Linked DNA regions of Homo sapiens: regions 1 and 2 are each linked to region 3. The links are contacts of gene promoters, found by promoter capture Hi-C in human tissues and cell types (Jung and others, 2019). All regions are on one chromosome and are shown on one strand. The core of a region is centred on a gene start or on the middle of the fragment in contact, and the rest is flanking DNA. Distances in the headings are between cores, read along the strand shown. Region 1 overlaps KPNA6 (karyopherin subunit alpha 6). Region 2 overlaps YARS1 (tyrosyl-tRNA synthetase 1). Region 3 holds the start of ZBTB8B (zinc finger and BTB domain containing 8B).

Evidence for each region. The method cuts DNA at HindIII sites, captures the fragments that hold promoters and counts their contacts. A contact is called where the count stands out against the background at its distance.
Region 1: a contact is called between a fragment that was not itself captured here and the fragment with the promoter of ZBTB8B in region 3, in 2 of the 25 tissues and cell types used here (adrenal gland and spleen).
Region 2: a fragment that was not itself captured here is called in contact with the fragment with the promoter of ZBTB8B in region 3 in 1 of the 25 tissues and cell types used here (dorsolateral prefrontal cortex).

Annotation. Positions count from the first base shown.
Region 1 is chr1:32,153,045-32,157,334 of GRCh38, forward strand. KPNA6 (karyopherin subunit alpha 6) reads left to right here. Exons shown (of 14, transcript NM_012316.5): 2 at 1,544-1,677; 3 at 3,809-3,901. Among named protein-coding and RNA genes, the nearest start is that of TXLNA, 24 kb to the right of the region's middle. The HindIII fragment of the contact is 4,682 bases long and covers 1-4,290 here.
Region 2 is chr1:32,784,673-32,789,688 of GRCh38, forward strand. YARS1 (tyrosyl-tRNA synthetase 1) reads right to left here. Exons shown (of 13, transcript NM_003680.4): 7 at 2,268-2,403; 8 at 1,690-1,775. Among named protein-coding and RNA genes, the nearest start is that of YARS1, 30 kb to the right of the region's middle. RefSeq lists an enhancer at 1,656-2,855. The HindIII fragment of the contact is 7,257 bases long and covers 1-4,945 here.
Region 3 is chr1:32,462,138-32,466,977 of GRCh38, forward strand. ZBTB8B (zinc finger and BTB domain containing 8B) reads left to right here and starts at 2,935. Exons shown (of 4, transcript NM_001145720.2): 1 at 2,935-2,968. The HindIII fragment of the contact is 24,686 bases long and covers 1-4,840 here.

The DNA.
Region 1 (4,290 bases), core at 844-3,343, 310 kb before region 3:
TGTGAACATTTAATTACTTAGATATACAACTTAAATTAGAAAAAATGTAGAAAGGGGATAGAAATCATATAGTAGAGAAGACTCAATGAAGCTAAAACTTGGATCTTGCAAAAGACTAAAATAAAAATAGTCAAGTCTCTGGTAAAGGTTCTCAGGAACAAAAGAGGGCACAAATAAGACAATATTAAGGATGAAGAAAGTACACAGTCACAGATAACTGATTTAAAAGAACGTGAACAGGCCAGGCGCAGTGGCTCATGCCTGTAATCCCAGCACTTTGGGAGGCCGAGGCAGGCAGTTCACCTGAGGTCAGGAGTTCGAGATCAGCCTGGCCAACATGGTGAAACCCCGTCTCTACTAAAAATACAAAAATTAGCCGTATTAGGCGTGGTGGCAGGCACCTGTAGTCCCAGCTACTCAGGAGGGTGAGGCAGGAGAATCATTTGAATCTGGGTGGCATAGGTTGCAGTGAGTCAAGATGGTGCCATTGCACTCCAGCCTGGGCAACAAAAGTGAAACTCTGTCTCAAAAAAAAAAAAAAAAAAAGAAGAAAAATATTTAAAAATACAGAAACAAACATTTTTCACAGAAGGGGAAACATATAGCTAATAACAACATGAAATCTAACCTCATTAGTAATCTGGGATATGCAAATAATCATCTCTGTGAAATACTTTATGACACCCAGTAGATTGTCAAAAGTATTGGTCAAGATATTTGTCAGTGGCAGTACTATGGAAGACAACTTTGGCACTAGCTGGTCAAGTTAACATTTATTTACCTACAACTGAGTAATTCACTGCTTAGAACAGCAGTTCTTGGCTGGACGTGGTTGCTCATGCCTATAGTCCCAGCACTTTGGGAGGCCAAGGCAGGTGGATCACCTGAGGTCAGGAGTTTGAGACCAGCCTGGCCAACATGGTGAGACCCCGTCTCTACTAAAAATATAAAAATTAACCAGTTGTGGTGGTGTGCGCCTGTAATCCCAGCTACTCGGAAGGCTGAGGCAGGAGAATCACGTGAGCCCAGGAGGCAGAGGTTGCAGTGAGTCGATACCGTGCCACTGCACTCCAGCCTGGGTGACAGAGTGAGACCCTGTCTCAAAAAAAAAAAACAGCATTTCTCAAAGTATGGTCTGCAGACCCCTGGGATTACGGGTGGGAGCCACTGTGCCTGATGTGTTCCTGTTTTATTAAAGATTAAATTCTGAAGCAATAAAAGTTACAGGAGCTTGTCCAAGGTTGCACAGCTAACAAGTAGAAGGGTCAGGATGTGAACCCAGACAATCTGTCTCTAGGGCCCACACTTTTAACTACTAAGCTTATACCAATTGCTTTAATACCACCTGTTTAGCAAGCTTATTGTAATTAAAAGATACTGGGGCTGGGGGGTGGGTAGAGATGTCAGGTGCTATTGAGAGCTCCCAGAGAGCTGTATTCCCCCCAGAGTAGGGGAGGGTGAAGGGTGGGTAGGGATAGAAGTCTAGTGAAAAGGAAATGCTGTCCTCTCAAGAGTTTTTGGCAGTGTGTATCTTTTCTTCTAGAGACCATGGCGAGCCCAGGGAAAGACAATTATCGAATGAAGAGCTATAAGAACAATGCTCTAAACCCTGAAGAAATGAGACGAAGAAGAGAGGAAGAGGGCATTCAGCTCCGGAAGCAGAAGCGAGAGCAACAAGTGAGTTAATGGGAGTATTCTCAAACATACTATTCTGGGAAACAAGCCCCTATGGTTGGCCTCCACCATGCACCCTGACTTGCCCTGTAGAAAAGTAGCTTACTAGGTGGGCATGGTGGCTCATGTCTGTAATCCCAGCACTTTGGGAGGCCAAGGCAGGCAGATCACCTGAGGTCAGGAGTTCAAGACCAGCCTGGCCAACATGGTGAAACTTCATTTTCTCTACTAAAAATACAGAAATTAGCCGGACGTGGTGGCATGCGCCTGCAATCTCAGCTACTTGGGAGGCTGAAGCAGGAGAATTGCTTGAACCTGGGAGGCGGAGGTTGCAGGAGCTGAGTTCGTGCCATTGCACTCCAGCCTGGGCAACAAGAGTGAAACTCCATCTCAAAAAAAAAAAAAAAAAAAAAAAGAAAAGTAGCTTACTTACTGAGTGAGCTACTCATCCAGTTTCCTTTGTTGTAAATAAATGTTGGGAGCTTTGAGAAAGAGAAAACTGACCTTATCCCCTTTTCACAAGTTAGACCAACTTAGACATCATTTATGTCTTTACTGTAACATTCTAGTTCTAGTTCCTTGTTACCTTTTCTTTTCTTTTTTTTTTCTTTTTTTTTTTTTGAGACGGAGTCTGATTCTGTCACCCAGGCTGGAGTGCAATGGCACGATCTCTGCTCACTGCAACCTCTGCCTCCTGGGTTCAAGCAATTCTCCTGCCTTAGCCTCCCGAGTAGCTAGGATTACGGGCATGTACCACCACGTCCAATTAACTTTGTATATTTTTGGTAGAGACTGGGTTTCACCATGTTGGCCAGACTGGTCTCGAACTCCTGACCTTGTGATCTGCCCAGATCTGCCCGCCTCAGCCTCCCATAGTGCTGGGATTACAGGCGTAAGCCACCACGCCCAGCCTGAGACTATAATAATGCCTCACCATCTGCACTCCTACGCCACCCCGCCAACAGATTCAGTCACCTGATTATTATTATTTATTTATTTATTTATTTATTTATTTATTTATTTATTGAGACAAGGTCTCACTCTGTCACCCAGGCTGGAGTGCAGTGAGTGCAGTGAGTGACATGATCTCAGCTCACTGCAGCCTCAAGCTCCCGGGCTCAAGTGATCCTTCTTCCTCAGCCTCCTGCATAGCTGGACTATAGGCATGTACCACCACGCCCGGCTAATTTTTGTGGATTTTTTTTTTTTTTTTTTTTTTGTACAGACAGGGTTTTGCCATGTTGCCCAGGCTGGTCTTGAACTCCTGAGCTGAAGTGATCCACCTGCCCTGGCCTCCCAGAGTGCTGGGATTGCAGGCATGCGCCACTGTGCCTGGCCAACCTAACCTGATTTTGCCCACCCTTTTGCTATACTATCATTCCTTTTTTTCTTTTTTTTTTTTAAGACAGGATCTTGCCCTGTTGCCCAGGTTGGAGTACAGTGGCGTGATCTTGGCCCACTGCTGCCTCTGCCTCCAAGTCCTTGAATATCTTTTCCATGTTAGTAATCAATAGTCTCCTCTTCTCTTTGTGGAATACATTCCAGGACCCACAGTGGATGCCTGAAACTGCAGATATTACTGAACCTTACATATACTATGTTTTTTTTCATGTTTTCATCTTTTTACTTAAAGGAAGCACTTTACAGCTTCTCTTTGGCACATTTGAATTGCCAGCATCACTACTCTTGCACTTTGTGGCTATTACTAAGTAAAATAAGGGTTACTTGAACACAAGCAATTGCCACCTGATAACCAAGTTGGTTATTAAGTGACTAACTGGCAGCAGCGTATACAGCATGGAATGGATGCACTGGACAAAGGATGTTCACATCCTGGGCCAGACAGAACAAGATAGCGTGAAACTTCAACACTACTCAGAATGGCATGCAATTTAAAACTTATGAATTGTTCATTTCTGGAATTTTCTGTGTAATATTTTCAGACCACGGTTGACTGGATAACTAAAATAATAGAAAGCAAAACTGAATAAGGGGAGACTAATGTATAAAGCTTGGCCTCACTTCTCAGCTACTCTAGTATATCCTTGTCAGTTATGCCATAATTTAACATTGGATTGTTCTTTGTTTTCTTTGGTTCAGAGAGTACTCTTAACCACTGTCTCTTTACTTTCAGCTTTTTAAACGGAGAAATGTGGAGCTGATTAATGAAGAAGCTGCCATGTTCGATAGTCTTCTCATGGACTCTTATGTGAGCTCTACCACTGGGGTAAGGCCCCTGCATGTGCCTCAGGCTGACCTGGAAAACACCTGCTTCTAAGGACAGAAATTGGGCCGTTCACATCATCTACCAGCTTTGCCAGTAACCATGACAAGTTCTTTCCTCTGTGGACCCTTTCGTCAGCTTTAGGAGTCAACAAAGATTCAACTTTGTTAGATATATCTGAGGAAACATTTAAGAGAAGCCATCAGTTGCCTCAGAATTAGGAATCACTTTTCAAATGTCCCAACTTGAAGCACCTATAGATTAAACAGACCCCTTCTCCTGAGCCTATTATGCCATCCTCTTGCCCTCAGTTTTTTAGAAAACAGGATGCCAAGCAGTATTATGTGCTCACATCTGGCTCTAATGTTGGTTTGCAAAGTCCTAAACTTGTT
Region 2 (5,016 bases), core at 67-2,566, 320 kb after region 3:
TATATTCTTTTCATTATATATATTCACATATATATTTTCACACATATATTCACATATATACACACATACACACATATGTTAAAAAACACATATAGATATATATGTAAAATGCAGCCAATGAAATGTTTACAAGTCTGCCTCGCCTACTGGACTGAGCATTAGGAGGACTGAACCCTCTGTGTAATACCAGTCCCTAGCATAGTGCCTAACACATGGGCACCTAGTAAGTCTTTTGTTCAAGTGTCTGTTGAAATGAATAGGAGCCTCTATTCTGTCCTTTTATAATTATCTCTTGTTTTTGAATCCTGATTTTGCATCTGTTCCTGAAATACTTCATTTTTGCTGAGTTAGGTCCTTTATTCCAGCCTGCTAAGTCATTTGGAGAGTGATTAAAGCACCAGTATATTAGCATTGTACCATTTGCCTATCGAATCTGGGAACCACCTGAATCCTCATCAAAGCCATTAACAAAATATGCAGCCCTGGAGAGCATAAACAGAGCCCTGGCCGGGCACAGGGGCTCACGCCTGTAATCCCAGCACTCTGGGAGGCCGAGGCAGGCGGATCACCTGAGGTCAGGAGTTCAAGACCAGCCTGGCCAACATGGTGAAACCCCGTCTCTACTAAAAAATATGAAAATTAGCCGGGTGTGGTGGTGGGCACCTGTAATCCCGGCTACTCAGGAGGCTGAGGCAGGAGAATCGCTTGAACCTGGGAGGCGGAGGTTGCAGTGAGCCGAGATCGTGCCACTGCACTCCAGCCTAGGCGACAGAGTGAGACTCTGTCTCAAAAAAAAAAAACCCCACAAAAACACAGAGCCCTGTAGCATATAACTACAAACCTAGCGGGCCAAGATGGAGAGGTCTGGCAGAGTTGAGTGGGGATTATCTTTCTTTTTCTTTTCTTTTCCTTTCTTTTTTTCTTTTTGAGACGGAGTTTCACTCTTGTTGCCCAGGCTGGAGTACAATGGCGCGATCTCGGTTCACTGCAACCTCCGACTCCCAGGTTCAAGCGAATCCCCTGCCTCAGCCTCCCGAGTAGCTGGGATTACAGGTGCGTGCCACCATGCCTGGCTACTTTTTTGTATTTTTAATAGAGATGGGGTTTCTCCGTGTTGGTCAGGCTGGTCTCGAACTCCTGACCTCAGGTGATCCACCCACCTCGGCCTCCCAAAGTGCTGGGATTACAGGTGTGAGCTGCTGCACCCAGCCCATTTTCTTTTTTTTTTTTTTTTTTAGTATCTCATGTAATTTATTGAATACAGAAAGTGAAAAACAGAATGGTTGTATGGGTACTTGAAGAAGTATGGTTTCTACTGAATGAGTACTGCTTTTGTACATCCTAAAGGGACCACTCGTGTGTATAAGATTACAGACATTTACTGATAAGAAATGTTTCCTGAGAAGAGGTGAGACAGAGTCCCTGCCAGGTAAGGAAAGGGCCCCGAGGGATAGAAATCCATCTGTATTAACAAAATTCCTAAGTCAGAAAAGCTAACTGACAAGAAACTTTAACCAAAACTGCAATTTTGAAGGAAAATGGACACTAGTGAGATTACCAAAAGTAGAGCAAAAATAGCAGGCAGCTCACTTTTACACAGAACAAGTTGTTCTAAACAAGTTCTAACAGTCAGCAAAAAATAACAAAATACAGATCTTCATGAAAGGATTCCTTTTCCTTTCATGTTACCTCAGCAGCAAAGTCCTTTTCCAGGTCCACGTAAGCTGTGTAGGTTTTGTTTCCACCCCATTTCTCATCTCGTAGGATCACAAACTCTATAAGGAAAAGGATCCATGTCAACAAACTCATTGACAGCATTCCTAGCTCACATGCATGACTATTCCTAGCCCACATGCATGACTATTTGTAGTTTTTGCCATATATTCTGAACTTTATTGTATGGTATTATTCTTAAATTGGATGAGTGGCACTATTGTATACCCAGCTAGCATCTCAGCTGCTTCAGGGGAAGGCTTGTGGCTTATATCTATTTTGTTGTATTCCTCTAGTTCAACATGTCTGCCCCCACCCTTACTTCTAACACCTCTGCCCACTCCAGTATTCCCTCAGAACCTAGCCTGGTAACGAATATATGGACAATTAAATTACATCCCAACATCATTCATACTTTAATATATAAGAAATCAGAGCAGAGAATCAGGGCAGCCAGTCCCTGAAGGAAGAGTCTGTGACAAATCACAAGTATGATCACAGCACGAACTTTTCTATTCTAGCCTGGCCTCTAGGAAGAAAACAGAGAGTGTTACCGGACTTAAGGGGAAAAAGGACATGCTTGATGAAGGACAGAACCCCATTGTTCTCCACATTTCCTGGCTCACAGAAGGCCTTCTTCAGTTTTTTCTTCACATCCTCCTTCCGATCAAGGAGATCAATCTTGGACTCCTAGAAGTCATAGAACGGAAGAGGACCTCTTGTGGTTGAAAATGAGAATATGCTCAACTAATATAAGTTAAATTTTGTTTTTTCTTCTCTGTCACCCAGGCTGGAGTGCAGTGGCACAATCATGGCTCACTGCAGCCTCAGCCTCCTGGGCTCAAGAGATTCTCCCATCTCAGCCTCCTGGAAAGCTGGGACTACAGGAATGTGTCACCATGCCCAGGTAATTCTATTTTTTGTAGAGACAGGGTTTCATCATGTGGCCCAGGCTGGTCTCAAACTTCTGGGCTCAAGCAACTCTCCTGCCTTGGCCTCCCAAAAAGTGCTGGGATTAAAGGTGTGAGCCACTGTGCCTCGCTAAAAAAATTCTTTTTACAAAGATTTTAACATTAGGTACTTGCAGATATTTTCCTGTGGATGTGGTAAAAATAAATAAATAAAGATTTTTTTTTTTTTTTGAGACGGAGTCTCACTCTGTTGCCCAGGCTGGAGTGCAGTGGCGCCATCTGAGCTCACTGGAAGCTCCGCCTCCTGGGTTCACGCCATTCTCCCGCCTCAGCCTCCCGAATAGCTGGGATTACAGGTGCCTGTCACCACGCCCAGCTAATTTTGTTTTTGTATTTTTAGTAGAGACAGGGTTTCACCGTGGTAGCCAGGATGGTCTCGATCTCCTGACCTCGTGATCTGCCCCGCCTTGGCCTCTCAAAGTGCTGGGATTACAGGTGTGAGCCACTGCACCCGGGCAATAAAAATATTTTAACATTTGGCTGGGCACAGTGGCTCACACCTGTAGTCTTATCACTTTGGGAGGCTGGAGAGTCGCTTGAGCCCAGGAGTTCAAGACCAGTGTGGGCAACATAGAAAAACCTCATCTCTACTGAAAATAAAAAATTAGCTGGGTGTGGTTGTACGCGCCTGTGGTCCCAGCTACTCAGGAGGCTGAGGCAGGAGGATCACTTGAGCCTGAGGTTGAAAGTGCAGTGAGGCATGATCATGCCACTACACTCCAGCCTGGGCGACAGTGAAAAACCACTCACAATCCTGCCATCTAACAAATTAAACTATTTTATTTTTTATATTCTTCTCAGGCTTTGTTTATAGCACACAAAATTGTTATGAATTTGTAGTTGGAGAATAAATGTCTATCTTTTAAGTATTTCTGAGTGGCTACCTGGTCCTTACTTACAATTTTTTTTCTTTTCAGATGGTCTCGCTCTGTTGCTCAGGATGGAGTACAGTGGTGCAATTATAGTTCACTGTAACCTCGAACTCCTGCCATTAAGTGATCTTCTGACCTCAGCCTCAAGAGGAGTTAGGACTACAGGTGTACAAAACCATGCCTGGCTAATTTTTATTTATTTATTTATTTATTTATTTTTTGAGACAGTTTTGCTTTTGTTGCCCAGGCTGGAGTACAATGGCATGATCTCGACTCACCTCAACCTCCGCCTCCTGGGTTCAAGCGGTTCCTCCTGCCTCAGCCTCCCAAGTAGCTGGGATTACAGGCATGCACCACCAAGCCCAGCTAATTTTGTATTTTTAGTAGAGACGGGGTTTCTCCATGTTGGTCAGGCTGGTGTCGAACTCCCGACCTTAGGTGATTCACCCGCCTTGGCCTCCCAAAGTGCTGGGATTACAGGCGTGAGCCACCGCACCTGGCATGCCTGGCTAATTATTTGTTAAAATGGGGTCTCACTGTGTTGCCCAGGACAATCTCAAACTCCTGGCCTCTAGCAATCCTCCTGCCTCAGCTTCCCAAAGTGTTGGGATTGATAGGATCTTGCTTGCTCTGTTGCCCTGGCTGGAGTGTGGTGGCACAATCATGGCCCACTGCGACCTTTGCCTCCCAGGCTCAAGTAGTCCTCCTACCTCAGCCTCCCATGTAGCTGGAACTATTGGTGCATGCCACCATGCCTAGCTAATTTTTAAAATTTTTTATAGAGATGGGATTTTATCATGTTGCCAAGGCTGGTCTTGAACTCCTGGACTCAACCTATCTGCCCACCTTGGCTTCCCAAAGTGCTAGGATTACAGGTGTGAACCACAATGTGTGGCCTACTTATAGTTTTTATGCCATATTATATTCCCAATTATTAGTGGAAACATAATTTAGCAAACTCCAAACTGTTAGATTCTATCCTAATTTTTACAAATTATATATAATGCTACATTGGACATCTTTGCAGTCTTTTCCCTTCTCTAGAATCATTTCCTTAAGATGCCGAAAATTGCTAGGTTCAAAATTGTTTTTTGAAAGGTATCCTAATCAACATTGCTGTCGACAATGTGTGAGGATACTTGTTCACAGCAATCAGCCACACTAAGTATTATATATTATCTACAGCCATTTTTCCTTTTTAGGTAATAGGCTTTGTTTCTTATTTGGAAAGAGTGAGTTCATGGTCATTTGAGTTCAGTGGTTACCAAATTCTAGCTCACATGTGACAGTATATGAATCACCTTTTACTGGGTTCCACCCAAACCTAATGAATCAAAATCTCTTGGGATTGGGCCAGGCATTTTTTTTTTTTTTTTTTAAGACGGAGTCTCACTCTGTGGCCCAGGCTGGAGTGCAGTGATGCAATCTTGACTCAGTGCAACCTCTTTCTCCTGGGTTCA
Region 3 (4,840 bases), core at 1,685-4,184:
TAAGGCCTCTAACATTTCCTATGCCTAGTTGTCAGGGGCATGTCCTATGCAGGCCACCCCAAAAAGCCCTTTTACGTTAGCAGTCTGGAATGTTACTAGGTCATCCAGTACAGGTTGCGTGTGCCATAGTCATAAAATTTGGGACCTGAAACTTGGAGCCTGGATGCAGGAGATGTGGAATGAATACTAGGGTGAGTTCCAGGTACAGTCATAATTAAGGTGAAGGCATCAGTGACATGACTTCCCAGGTAAGAAGATACAAAAGGCTGAGCCCAGAGAAGCTTGGTGCTCCTCACTTCTGATGCTTTCTCTGCTGCTATGATGATCAAAAGTCCTCAGCACCTGAGCTGGCCTTTGGGAACCAGGTGGCAAGGACAGCCACACTAACAGGAAAGATGTAACTGCTGCTGTCCCTCTCTGGGTATCCAGCTTTACAAGAAATAGGTAAACTACTTTTCTTTGATAGATAGTATAGTGGTGTTTGGCTGACATTTTACCTTCTAAAATTATTAAGTTATCTTTAGAGTGAACTGCAATTACATTTTTGACAAGCTCTAAAATATATCCTAAACAAACCCCTCCATCTCTACCACCTCTACCCTATCCCCAGTTATCAGCATCTATCAGCAGGGGAGAGATCATATCTTATCTCTTCCCTGCTTAAGATCCTTCGAAGGTGTCCCTTCACATTCATAAGAAAAAATCCAAACTCCTTAAGGTGGCCTACAAATTCCTACATAATCTGGCCTTTGCTTCTCTATCCATTCATATTTCCTGTCGCTTGGACTGGCTACATAATTTGTGGGGCCCAATGCAAAATGAAAATGCAGAGCTCCTTGTTCAAAAACTACTAAGAATTTTAAGAGGGCAATGGCAGAGCATTAAACCAGGCATCAGCCCTTTCCTTTTTTTTAATTTTTAAAATATTTATTTAGATTTTCTTTTTGTTAGTAATTAAATCTTTCTTCTTCTTCTTCTTCTCCTCCTCCTCCTTCTCCTTCCTCTCCTTCCTCTTCCTCTTCTTCTTCTTCCCTCTTCCCTCTCTCCTCCTCCTCGTCCTCCTCCTCCTTGAAACAGTGCAGTGGCACAATCTCAGCTCACTGCAACCTCCACTTTCCATGTTCAAGTGATTCTCATGCCTCAGCCTCCCGAGTAGCTGGGATTACAGGTATGTGTCACCATGCCCAGCTAATTTTTGTATTTTTAGTAGACACTGGGTTTTGCCATGTTGGCCAGGCTGGTCTCAAGTGATCCGCCCGCCTCAGCCTCCCAAAGTGCTGGGATTACAGGTGTAAGCCACCGCACCTGGCTCTTTTTTTGTTTTGTTTTGTTAAGTATAAAACCTCACCTGGAAGCACCAGCCCTTTCTGAGTGTGCGGGCCTGTGCCACTGCGTGGGTTGCACGTCCATTAAGCTGGTCTACCTGCCATCCACTTCCTCAACCCAATGGCATTCTCCTGTTTCTTAGATATGTACCAACCGGTTTTCTGTTTTATCTTAGCATGGCTCACTACTCCTCATTAGGGTCTCTCAGCGAAGGGGGTAGCCTTTTTTTTTTTTTTTTTTTTTTTTGAGACAGAGTCTTGCTCTGCTGCCCAGGCTGGAGTGCAGTGGCCAGATCTCCACTCACTGCAATCTCTTTGGTTCAAGCATTCTCCTGCCTCAGCCTCCCAAGTAGCTGGGATTACTGGCCCACGCCCGGCTAATTTTTGTATTTTTAGTAGAGATGGGGTTTCACCATGTTGGCCAGGCTGGTCTCGGACTCCTGACCTCAGGTGATCCACCCGCCACCACTCCAGCCTGGGCAACAGAGTCTGAGACTCCGTCTCAAAAAAAAAAAAAAAAAAAAAAAAAAAGTCATACTGGCATAGAGTGAACCCCTAATCCAATATGACTGGTATCCTTATAAAAATACTTTTTTTTTGGAGACGGAGTCTCTCTCTGTCGCCCCAGGCTGGAGTGCAGTGGCGCGATCTCGACTCACTGCAACCAAAAGGAGACATTTTGACATGGAGACATATACAGGGAATATGCCCTGTGAACATGAAGATGGCCATATGCAAGCCCAGGAGAGAAGCCTGGAAGAGACCGTTTCCTCACAGCGCTCAGAAGGAAAGAACCCTGCCAACATCTTGCTTTCAGATGCCCCCAGGATTGTCAGACAATAAGATCTGTTATTGACGCCACCGGGTTGGTGATACTTAGGTACAGCAGCCCTAGCAAACGAATACACCCCCATGAGAACTAAGCTCCCTGAGAGCGGTAAGCTGCCTTGTCTTGCTCACAGCTGACAAGAACACGCCTGTACGGTCACTTAGCACCTAGTACTGCCATTTAACCGTTTCACTAGTATGTATGAACCGGAGAGCCTGTCAAGGGAAGAGCTGAATCTTTTATCTTTTGTAACGACTACCCAGTGAAAGAAACCGCGGGTATGCAATAAAAACCTGTTGAATCGATTAAACCATTTCCCTTATTTCCAGATTTTTGCGGAAAGCGCCAGTAGGTGAAATATGTGCGGACTGATGAGTCAAAGCTCTTATTCCCTGGACTGCATTAATACCCACGACGTGCTTTTCGCTCTCCAGACAAAGAGACCGGTACTTGGCAGGTCCCTCAAGTGGGACTCAAAAGACCGAACCGAGCTGCAGCCTTTCGCTAGCACTGGTCCTCGCCCCTTTTGGCATCTTGGTACTTGTAGTTTTGTCCACTCTATCTTTACCCGAAAAGCCAGCGCTGAGACCACAACTCCCATCACCCTGCGAGCACCAGCGCCTTCAGAGCGCATCCTCCGAGGGGCACCAGCGCCATTGACCACCCTGCTGGCCGAAGGGCCCGCCTTCCCGAGGCCAGGCGCTCCCGCGATTGGCCAGCCGCCCCGCCTCTCATCGGAGGGCGCCAGGTGAATGAAAGGGGGGCGTGTCGGTGCGCGGTGCTCCGTGGCTGCGCTGCTGGAACCCGCTGGAAGGTGAGCGCGAAGAAGCGGGTTGGCGCTGCCGCTTTCGTTGGTTTGGGGAGGATTCCTAGCACCCGGGAGGCTGGCTGGAGATTGGGGTTAGCGGGCAGGGTTGCCCCCACTCAGTCATCCTCCTTCGGACCGCTTGGCCCTGGCAACTCCTGGGACCTCCGCCCCGCGAGCCCTTCTAGCGTGGGGAGGGGCAGGCGCGGCCGTGGGGCCCCAGCTTCCCTGTCATTGGGTGTCCTCCGCGTCGTCCAGCCGGGGGTCGCGGCGCCGACTACTTCCACGGTGAATGGTGCCCAGGCGTGGGGGGCTCGGCCACACTGGAGAAGTGCCAGCGGCAGCGATGGCCACTTTGTCCGCGGGAGGCCATGGGAGGGGCTAGGCCTTGGGGTCCCACCCTCGGGGGCCGTGCCCTGTAGCTGGTTCTGGTGGCCTCTCTGCAGGTCGTCTGATGCTGGACGGGGGAGGGTCTGTCTTGCGAGCAGTTTAGATGCAGTTGACCCTGAAATTCTTCGTATGGAAATGGAAACTTCTCCAGTGTCCTTCTCCTCCGATCCATGCCTAAAAGAAAGGAGTGACTTCCCCAACCTGTCGCATCGTGTCCTGGAGGGTTTGAGGAGGCCGGTTAGCATAGTGGTTAAGGATGTCAACCCGGGAGTCAGTCGGATCTCTGTTCTATTACTAACTTGGTGATGTTATCTGCATCTTTGAATCTCAGTTCCTCCTCTGAAAAAGAGGATGTAGTTAGAGTATCTGTCGTACTGGATTATTGTGAGGTGAAAACTAATGTGCTTGTAAAAGCCAGGCATGGTGGCGCGCACCTGTAGTCCCTGCTACTCGGGAAGCTAAGGTTGGGAGGATCTCTTGAGCCCAGGAGTTCCAGGCTGCATTGAGGTAGGATCGTGCACTCCAACCTGGGCAACCGAGCAAGACCGTGCCTTTTAAAAATTTTAATTTAAAAAGTAAAATGAATATGCTTGTACTTTGTACAGTGTTTTATAAGGAATAGTGCTTAATATTTACTAAAATTGAGGAGCAGGTTTTTGTTATTCTCAGGTTGGTGGGACTGGAGGAGTCTTGTCAGAAAGGGTCGGAGGTGGAATTCAAGGCTGCTTTTGGCCTCTGAACAGAGACAGTTGTGTGATCTGGCTAGGACTCCCTCAAGGGTATATGAGAGTTTGTATTGCAGGTAGTTGTGTTGGCATCTGCTGTCTCCTGGAGGACAGGCACTATACTTGGTTCATTTTTCTATTCCTGGCATCTTCCTTGTGTCAGGCATTGTATGTAGCCGGTAACCGTTGAATTGAGTTGGAACCGTGGGATGGTTGGGAGGTTCCCTGCCAGAGTGCGGATAAATGTGCTTCTGAGAGCAGTCTGCCCTAAGAGCTGCTCTTCTGGGATAAGTGGTGATCCTCAGCACTTCCCGGGGCAGCAGAGCACTTCAGGCAAATGGGGGTGATATAAATAAATATTTACACAATATATACCAAGTACAGGATTGGGGAAAATTTTGAAGAAAATACTATACGGATAGACTTTTGCAACGTCAGGAAGTAGAATAAAAATAATTGCAATAGAATAAAAAATAATTTCAGTAAGAAAGCCAAAAGAAATTGGTTTTAGGTGCTATTTCTGGAAAGGAGGCTTTTCCAGTGAAAGACGGAAGTGCCCTGGGAAGAGCCCCTATAGATCAGACCATACTACAAGTTAAGAAGTGTTGTGCGTACTTACATATTTATCTACCTGGCTTACCAACTCCTTACCCCTCTGCCCTGCCTCCTTTTTTTCTTAGTTAACAAAGAAAAAAGCCAAGGCAGAAGGATCACTTGAGTCCAGGAGTTCAAGACCATTGAGACCAGCCAGGGCAACATAGTGAGA